Regions from separate parts of the Homo sapiens genome. Here regions 1 and 3 are each linked to region 2. The links are contacts of gene promoters, found by promoter capture Hi-C in blood cells and fetal thymus (Javierre and others, 2016). All regions are on one chromosome and are shown on one strand. The core of a region is centred on a gene start or on the middle of the fragment in contact, and the rest is flanking DNA. Distances in the headings are between cores, read along the strand shown. Region 1 has its middle 46 kb from the start of SST. Region 2 holds the start of RTP4 (receptor transporter protein 4). Region 3 has its middle 78 kb from the start of SST.

Evidence for each region. Contacts are between HindIII fragments. The CHiCAGO score rates a contact against its expected background, and 5 or more counts as called.
Region 1: a fragment that was not itself captured here is called in contact with the fragment with the promoter of RTP4 in region 2 in 1 of 17 cell types (megakaryocytes); the score reaches 5.1 in megakaryocytes.
Region 3: a contact is called between a fragment that was not itself captured here and the fragment with the promoter of RTP4 in region 2, in 1 of 17 cell types (M1 macrophages). The highest score is 6.0, in M1 macrophages.

Annotation. Positions count from the first base shown.
Region 1 is chr3:187,622,895-187,625,594 of GRCh38, forward strand. No RefSeq gene overlaps it. Among named protein-coding and RNA genes, the nearest start is that of SST, 46 kb to the right of the region's middle. The HindIII fragment of the contact is 436 bases long and covers 1,070-1,505 here.
Region 2 is chr3:187,367,084-187,369,783 of GRCh38, forward strand. It overlaps RTP4 (receptor transporter protein 4), which reads left to right and starts at 1,302. Exons shown (of 2, transcript NM_022147.3): 1 at 1,302-1,513. The coding sequence starts at 1,359. RefSeq lists an enhancer at 1,163-1,512. The HindIII fragment of the contact is 4,178 bases long and covers 1-2,700 here.
Region 3 is chr3:187,591,001-187,593,700 of GRCh38, forward strand. No RefSeq gene overlaps it. Among named protein-coding and RNA genes, the nearest start is that of SST, 78 kb to the right of the region's middle. The HindIII fragment of the contact is 718 bases long and covers 1,092-1,809 here.

The DNA.
Region 1 (2,700 bases), core at 38-2,537, 260 kb after region 2:
GAAGAAGGTGAAAATGCTAGAGAGACCGTCTTGTGCCTTTCTCCGAGGAGTTCCGTGAACTGCTCAGTTGCTAAGACTTGATAGGAACTTGTAGAAAGACTTCTGTAGCACTACAAGGCAGTAATACATATTGATGAAAAATCTCTGTTATCAGGCTATCTGTATTTAAGAGTTATAATAACAACAGCTATTCTTAGACAATTCTTTACCATTTATAAGGTATTTTCACACATATCACATCACTTTGCATTTACTGTTTCCCCTATCCTGAACATTCCTCCCTCAGATATCTACCTGGCTTGCTCCCTCACCTACTTCAGAACTGTGTTCAAATGTTATCTTTCCTATTGGCCTAAAGGAAAATTGCAACTGTGCCCACCTCCCCTGAAACTCCCTGTCCGCTTCCCATGATATGCTTCTCCACAGCACTCCTCACTGTCTGACTTGCTATACATTTTACTTGTAGAATGTGAGCTCCCTAGGGAATGAGATCTTTGTATTTTCATGGCTATATTCCCAGTGCCTGGAACACAGTAGTTGCTCAGTTAAGACCTTTTGAGGGAATAAAAGAATACATTGTGAATGCGATTCTCCCCACAGCCTTGAGGAGCAGGAGGCATCATTATTACTATTTTGCAGATGAAGCAACTGAAACTCAGAAGGCTAAGTGGTCAGACCACATGGATGAGAGGGGCAGACCCAGATGACCTCACACTGGCTCACTCTGTGCTCTCCAGAGACACATCTCGGAAACAGACACTTTAACAAGTGCACCCTCCCACTCAGGAAGGAGTGTCCAAGTCAGACGAGTGCTGAGAGCTATAATGCTCAGCCCTGTGCCTGCACCCCTGCATTGGCCCTCTCTTGGCACCTGCCTTACCCACCCTCCAGGGAGTGCGTTCCCAGGCACCCACTGTATTTGATGAGCACCTGCAGGTCTAATTATCCCATTAAGGTAGGATAAACAAAGAAAAAGGAAGGAAGAAATAATTACAAAACAAGCAAACCTGAATGGTCAACACATCAACACAGTAATTACATTTCTCCAAAAAGAAAAAGACAGGAACTAAGCTTTTCCACCTAACTCTTTTTGCTTTCGAATGGAAGCCTCCTCTCTCAGCTGCAGATTACACGGGCTGGCAGCTTTCCCACCCTCACCATGCTCCTTGTTGCCTCTATTGACAGAGGTGAGCCATTACTCTTCACTAAAATTCAGTGTCCACACATTCGCCCCTTGACAACACTCTGGAAATTGATCTCTTCAAATATCTTTGGAACTAAATTAAGGCAATTTGTTCTTTCCCTGATCCACATGGTTGTCCTCTGGGACAGAATCATTGCTAAAAGGATGATCATGATTTTTTGAAAAGGGAGGGAAGTCTTCCGGGAAGGAGGCAATCCAAAATCTTGGTAATATTGAGTATAAGTGATTTTAAAAATCAAATACCATTAATACTGCTATACTGCTTACAAAGAACATTCACATCCATTATCTATAGGATTTAAGCTTTGTGCTACTCTATGAAGAAATTGAGAAATACCTGACTTTCCATTTTATAGGTGGCAAAACTAGGGAAATGACTTACCAAAGTTCACATCCCTGTAAGTGAAAGAGCAACAAATACTCGAATCCAAGTTTTCTGACTCTAAGTGGAAAGCTTTATGCCACAAATATGGTATGTGTGTGTATATGTGTGTAGAGAGAAAGAGAGACTGATTCTATTTTCACCCTGCACCTTCCAAATTGTCTTTTCTGGGCACCTCACTCGGCTTCCCTGTCCTCAGATGTATTTTCCTGCATCAGAGAGCACTCTGGCAGTCCCCAGACTGGCTGTGCTCAGAGGTTAGCATTTTACATTCCACAAGTATTTGGCTTGCTTTAAGAGCATGGACTTCTGAGTCAGACAGACCTGAGTTCCAGCAGGGATAGATTGCACCGATCCTCAACATCTCCACTCACCTCACAGCATTGTTGACAAAATTGTATGAAAAGACGCCATGTGGTATCCATCACAGCTCATGGCACACCGAAAATGCTCAGTAAATGAGAGCAATTCTTGTTGAGTACCCTGTTCACTTCTGTATCACATCTGAGAGGTGGGGGTCCAGGCTCTTATCTTATCTTACATTATTGCTCAAAGCCTTCGCCAGAGTCACTCTCTGGGCATGAGCGTGCATGGAAGCAGTGATATCCTCTAATTTGAAAAGTTCTGGGTGCTGAACAGTAGCAAAGACAGCAGCAGGAATTCCTATTTTCTGAACATTTAGTGTTCTCCATGAATAATTGTCATTAATGTCGTCAGCCGCCCTACCATTAATCCCATTTTAGAAGTATTAACACCATTCATTGTGTCCATAGACCTGCTAAACACTGAATATTTGTGTCACTGCAAAATTCATATGTTGAAACCCAACCCCCAAGGTGATGGCATTTGGAGGCAGGGCCTTGGAGAGGTGATTAGGTCAGGTTAGAGGCCCTCATAAATGAGATTAGTGCTCTTGTAAAAAGGACCCCAGAGAGCTCATTTGCCCCCTTCAGCCATGTGAGAACATAGTAAAAATATGGTGTGATATTATGAGATTGTATATGTGTGTGTGTGTGTGTGTGTGTGTGTGTGTGTGTTTTCATCCACAGTTCCCAGTTTATCACTCCCATAGCCCTTATTACAGTCTTTTGTTATAATGCTGGGGCACTTTAGG
Region 2 (2,700 bases), core at 52-2,551:
GCTGCAGACCTTCCGGGTGAGTGTTAACAGCTGATAAAGGCAGAGCAGACCCAAACACTGCGCAGCAGCAAGATTCATTGCAAAAACCAAAAGAACAAATCTTCCACCACGTGGAAGGGGACCCGAGCCGGTTGTCAGTGCTGGCTGGGGCAGCCTGCTTTTATTCTCTTATCTGGCCCCACCCACATCCTGCAGATTGGTCCATTTTACAGAGAGCCAATTGGTCTGTTTTACAGAGAGCTGATTGGTCCGTTTTGACAGGGTGCTGATTGGTGCATCCACAAACCCTGAGCTAGACACAGGGTGCTGATTGGTGCATTTACAAACCTTGAGCTAGATACAGAGTGCCCATTGGTGTATTCACAATCCCTTAGCTAGACATAAAGGTTCTCCAAGTCCCCACTAGACTCAGGAGCCCAGCTGGCTTCACCCAGTGGATCCCGCCCCGGGGGCAGCAGGTGGAGCTGCCTGCCAGTCCTGCGTGTGTGCCCGCACTTCTCTGCCCTTGGGCGGTCGATGGGACCAGGCACCATGGAGCAGGGGGTGGCACTCGTCGGGGAGGCTTGGGCCATGCAGGAGCCCAGGGTGGGGAGACTCAGGCATGGCGGGCTGCAGGTCCCGAGCCCTGCCCCACAGAGAGGCAGCTAAGGCCCAGCGAGAAATCGAGCTCAGTGCCGGTGGGCCGGCACTGCTGGGGGACCTGGCGCACCCTCCGCAGCTGCTGGCCCAGGTGCTAAGCACTTCACTGCCCAGGGCTGGGGGCCTGCCGGCCGCTCCGAGTGCAGGGCCCGCCAAGCCCACGCCCACCCAGAACTCTAGCTGGCCTGCAAGCCCTGCATGCAGCCCCGGTTCCTGCCCGTGCCTCTCCCTCCACATCTCCCAGCAGGCTGAGGGAGCCGGTTCTGGCTTTGGCCTACCCAGGAAGGGGCTCCCACAGTGCAGTGGCTGGCTGAAGGGCTCCTCCAGCGCGGCCAGAGTGGGCACCGAGGCCGAGGAGGCTCCGAGAGCGAGCGAGGGCTGCGAGGGCTACCAGCATGCTGTCACCTCTCACTTTGCCTATTATAAAAAATGAGAGAGAGAAAATAAAAGCGAATTTATATGTGACCCCAGAATCTAGAACAGAGCTCTTTATCTCTCTCTCAGCAAGGCCTATTAACTAACACAGTTTTGCTGCTGTCTGTTTTCAGAACAAAGACTTGTTCTGTGTACTCAGACAGTCTAAAATGAAGGTTGAAAAAAACAGCTCATGTCCATACACAGAAACAGAAACTGAACCGAACACCGAAACTGAAACTGTTTGTCTCTTCCTGAGAAACGAGCAAACCTGAAAGCTACTCTCTCAGCTTCAGAGGGAAAAAATGGTTGTAGATTTCTGGACTTGGGAGCAGACATTTCAAGAACTAATCCAAGAGGCAAAACCCCGGGCCACATGGACGCTGAAGTTGGATGGCAACCTTCAGCTAGACTGCCTGGCTCAAGGGTGGAAGCAATACCAACAGAGAGCATTTGGCTGGTGAGTGTGGGTTTCCCAGGCAATAGCTCTTCTGAGAAGAGAGGCTCAGGCTCAGCTTAGCATGATTTATTCCTCTGAGAGCTTGTTGAAGGAGTAAATGTCACCAGGGCCTCCATCCTATTGTGGTCATAGTACTCTTTAGGGTCGACATGATAAGACGACTCCAAACCTCCATTTTGTTTAACTGCTGGAAGTTTCTTCTTTTACTAGGTTTCCCTCCGTAAATATTTCTGGAAAACCCTGGAGAAGGCTCCCTATTCCATAAATTTTCCCTTCTAGTTTCTCACCACGTCATTTGTTCCAGACTACCTCTAGAGTCTTTTGCAGTCTCCCCAGCAGTCCTGACCAGCTTCCCCCAGCTGCACCAGCTCTCCAAGCCTTGGCACTGTTCAGTACAAGCCTGGGACGGAGCCTTTTTTTTTTTTTTAAATATCTTAAGAATTGGCTAAGATCAAGCAGTTACTCTGAACATTGCTTTACTGAAGGCCTGGGGATAATAGTATAGAATGATGTTGCAAAAACTAAATCTAAAACCCAGTTCATGGAGTCACCAAGTAATACTCCTCCCTTACTCACCACTTCCCTCTTTAACCCCCAGCAAGCCTCCAGGTTGCAGGAACCAGTTTCCTTGACCATGTTAGGAGGGTGAGAATTGCTGACCTGGATAATCAAATTTATTTTTAAATGACACACAGGACCTTCGGTATAGTTTTCATCTGACCTATTACTCAGCTTGCCTGCCTGCCCCATCCTGCCTCAGGTATGGCCTACTCCATTCCTTATGGACTATTAGCTATGCCATGCATCTTCAGACTTCCACACTCTTGTTCATGGAGTTCTGCTTGTTCAGCAGACCCTCCCCTCACCCCTCCCTGCTCATCCTTCAAGGCCCACTCTAGTGCCTCCTCCTCCTAAAAGCATTCTCTGGTTCTCCTAGGCAGAGTAAGTATTCCTTCGTATACATTCCCATAAGATAATGGGATAAGATAAAATATATATGTATATGTATACATAAATGATATATAATTATATATACATATGTACTATGTATTTCAGAATAATAAATTTATAAATAATATATGTATTATTATATATTGTATCAAATACAGTATATGCTTATTTTTAGCTGCAGAATCTGTTGTTTAAATAAAGCCTCCTAAACGTCTCCAGAACAGTTCTCAAGTCAC
Region 3 (2,700 bases), core at 201-2,700, 220 kb after region 2:
GCTTTTCAGATGCCTGGTATCCTTGGCAACCCATTCATACGTTCATACTTCTTTGTGACTGTGGATGGGACATGCCGACTCTCTATCTTTTCTGTGGAGTTCTCAGGCATCTGGTTAGCTTTTGTTTGGCACTTTATATAAAATCTACAAGTCTTTTTAAATGAATTCCTTTGGTTTCCCCATAGAAAAACACATTCTGCCCTGTGGCCAGAGCTCCAGCTACCAAGGCCCAGGGGGAGGGGCAGGGGGCGGGTGGGATGCGGTTAGAAAGTGAAATGAGACTTCCTTGGTTCAGTATGCAAATCTTTCCCTTCCCCTTCCCCGTGTTTTAGGCCATATATTAGACATCAGCCTTGCACTATGTGTGGTGCCCCAACTCAGGAATGAAATGATTCTGTTTTCCAAGAGAGCAAGCCTCAGGTCTCCAGTGTTGTGAGGCACGGCTAACTCCCTAGTAGTCTGTAGTAAGAAAGGGAACCGGAGTGCTCACGATTCTTTTTCAGGCTTCCAGCTAATCTCCCTGCTTTTGCTCCCAGCACCCTCTCCCTGCTCTTTCTGCCACAGCTGAGATTCGTAAGGGTTCTGTGGGTCACATCAGCTCACTTCTCATAGCACCCCACTTTTGGGGTCCTTGTGTTGGCATGGTCTTTACCCCACTTTCAGACTTTTCAAAATATGTTGGCATCTCTTGCTGTGGATGCCTCTCCTGTGCTCCTTTGTCCTTGGGACAAGGGCATGTCTGTAATCAATTCAAAATTGTTTTTAATAGAGATAGGATCTCACTATGTTGCCAGGCTGGTCTTGAACTATTGGGCTCACGTGATCCTCCTGCCTTGGCCTTCCAAAGTGCTAGGAGGAAATATTTTTCAATATTTTCCAGTATTTTTAAGGGAAATCCAGACTAGTTTTAAGGCAACATTTAAAACTCTCATGCTTTCCAGGGCCCTGCTTTGAAAACTTTTGAAGATATCCAGATTCCTTAGTTGAGGCTATTTCCACAGTGCTCCTGAGTCTCTGTGGAATCAAATGACTCAAGCAGCTTCAAGAATCCCTTGTATAACATGACCTTTAGAAAAGTAGAGAAAATGAAAAGCTTCTCTTGGAATGCAAATCATCAATTGTTTGAAAAATCCAAAGTTTGCAACATCATCTCAGGGTGGCTGCAAACATCAAACTGATAAAAGAGCCTCTAGAGCTCCTTTTCTGACATAGGGAATTCTGTGTTTGTTTTTCTTATTGTCTTGAGGAGTTGCAGGAGAGCTTTTCTGTTTTCTCTTTTCTCTTTTAGTATTTTAAAATTGAATCAGACTTGAAGTGACTCCTCCTTGAGCATGTGCTAAAGCAGCTGTGATGACCGGAAGTCATGGCCAGAAAATCTTCCACAGGAAACAACACACTCACACACACACCTTTAATTATTCAAACTCCCAAAGGTTCTGAAGTTAAACAAGTTCTTCCTCGGGAGAGCAGACTTGACCCTCTTTTCCCTACTCTCTTCCCCAACCTCAACTCCTGCACAAGAACTTCAAGGACGCAGCCATAAATTAGGTTGACATCTAGAAGCCCCCTCCATCTAAAACTGATGGAGAACCACAAAAACTGGGAAGGTTTCCTCCTCTGGGGCTGTGAATTTCTGCTTCTCTCATTAATAAGATAATTTTACTTCCTTGGGCAAAATGGAGCATAGCTGTCTCTTATTCATGACAGAGAAATCATAATATTATTTTAGTTTATCTTCAGCACCCCTCCAATTCTCATTGAGTTATTCTGGGCGCAAACCAGGTTATTTTTGGCATTTCCAATGTACTAAGCTTCATGAAGAAAAGAGGCAGAAAAGCAGAGTATTTAGGATCCCGGTATTAAACACACTTGGATTGAAATCCTGGCTCCCTCACTACATGCCTATGATGTTTAGTAATATCTGAATATTATTGGTTACTTAATTTATAATATTCATAATTATCTATGAAATACATAATAATATAAACTTTCAATAGGACAGTGAGAAGGATTAAATTTAATAAAGCATATGAGGAGCTAAACTTCTGTGGCATATAGTAAATGCTCAATCAATTTAGGTTGTCATGATTGTAATCAGGAAGATAAAATAACGTGTGTGTGTGTGTTTAGTTATGCTAGATAGGTGATTTTTGAGCTGCAGAGATTTTGAACTCTTAAACGAAGGAATACCATCATTCTCTGTGCTGGACAGACTTTCTGATGGCTCCAGCTTAATTTCCATCATAATGTTGTAAGACTTTCTCCTTAGTTTAGCTAAAAATTGGGTCCTTGCCACATGACCATGAAATATTAGGCTCGCAGACTCTTTGAAGGGTGAGAAAAATGGAATTTATTGGGCGAAAAGGAAAAAAACTCAGCAACACGAGATAGGTTCCTGTAAACATGCTCTCACATCAGATTGAATCCCAGCTTCCACCCAGGAAGAGGAGGGGCCAGGCTCCTGCCTACTGCAACCGGCATGAGCTTCCCGAGGCTCCACCCAAATGCACAGTCCTCCCAGTGTGCAGGCAGGTCAGAGGTTCTCCAGGGATCCCTTTACACTTGGCTGTCTCAATAACTCAACCACAACTCCTCTGCCAAGGACAGTTCACACTGCCTCTCAGAACTGAGCTCATGTAATGGCAGCTCATGTCATCTTCAGAGAGCTCAGCTGTTAGAAAATCATTCTGATTGTCAGCT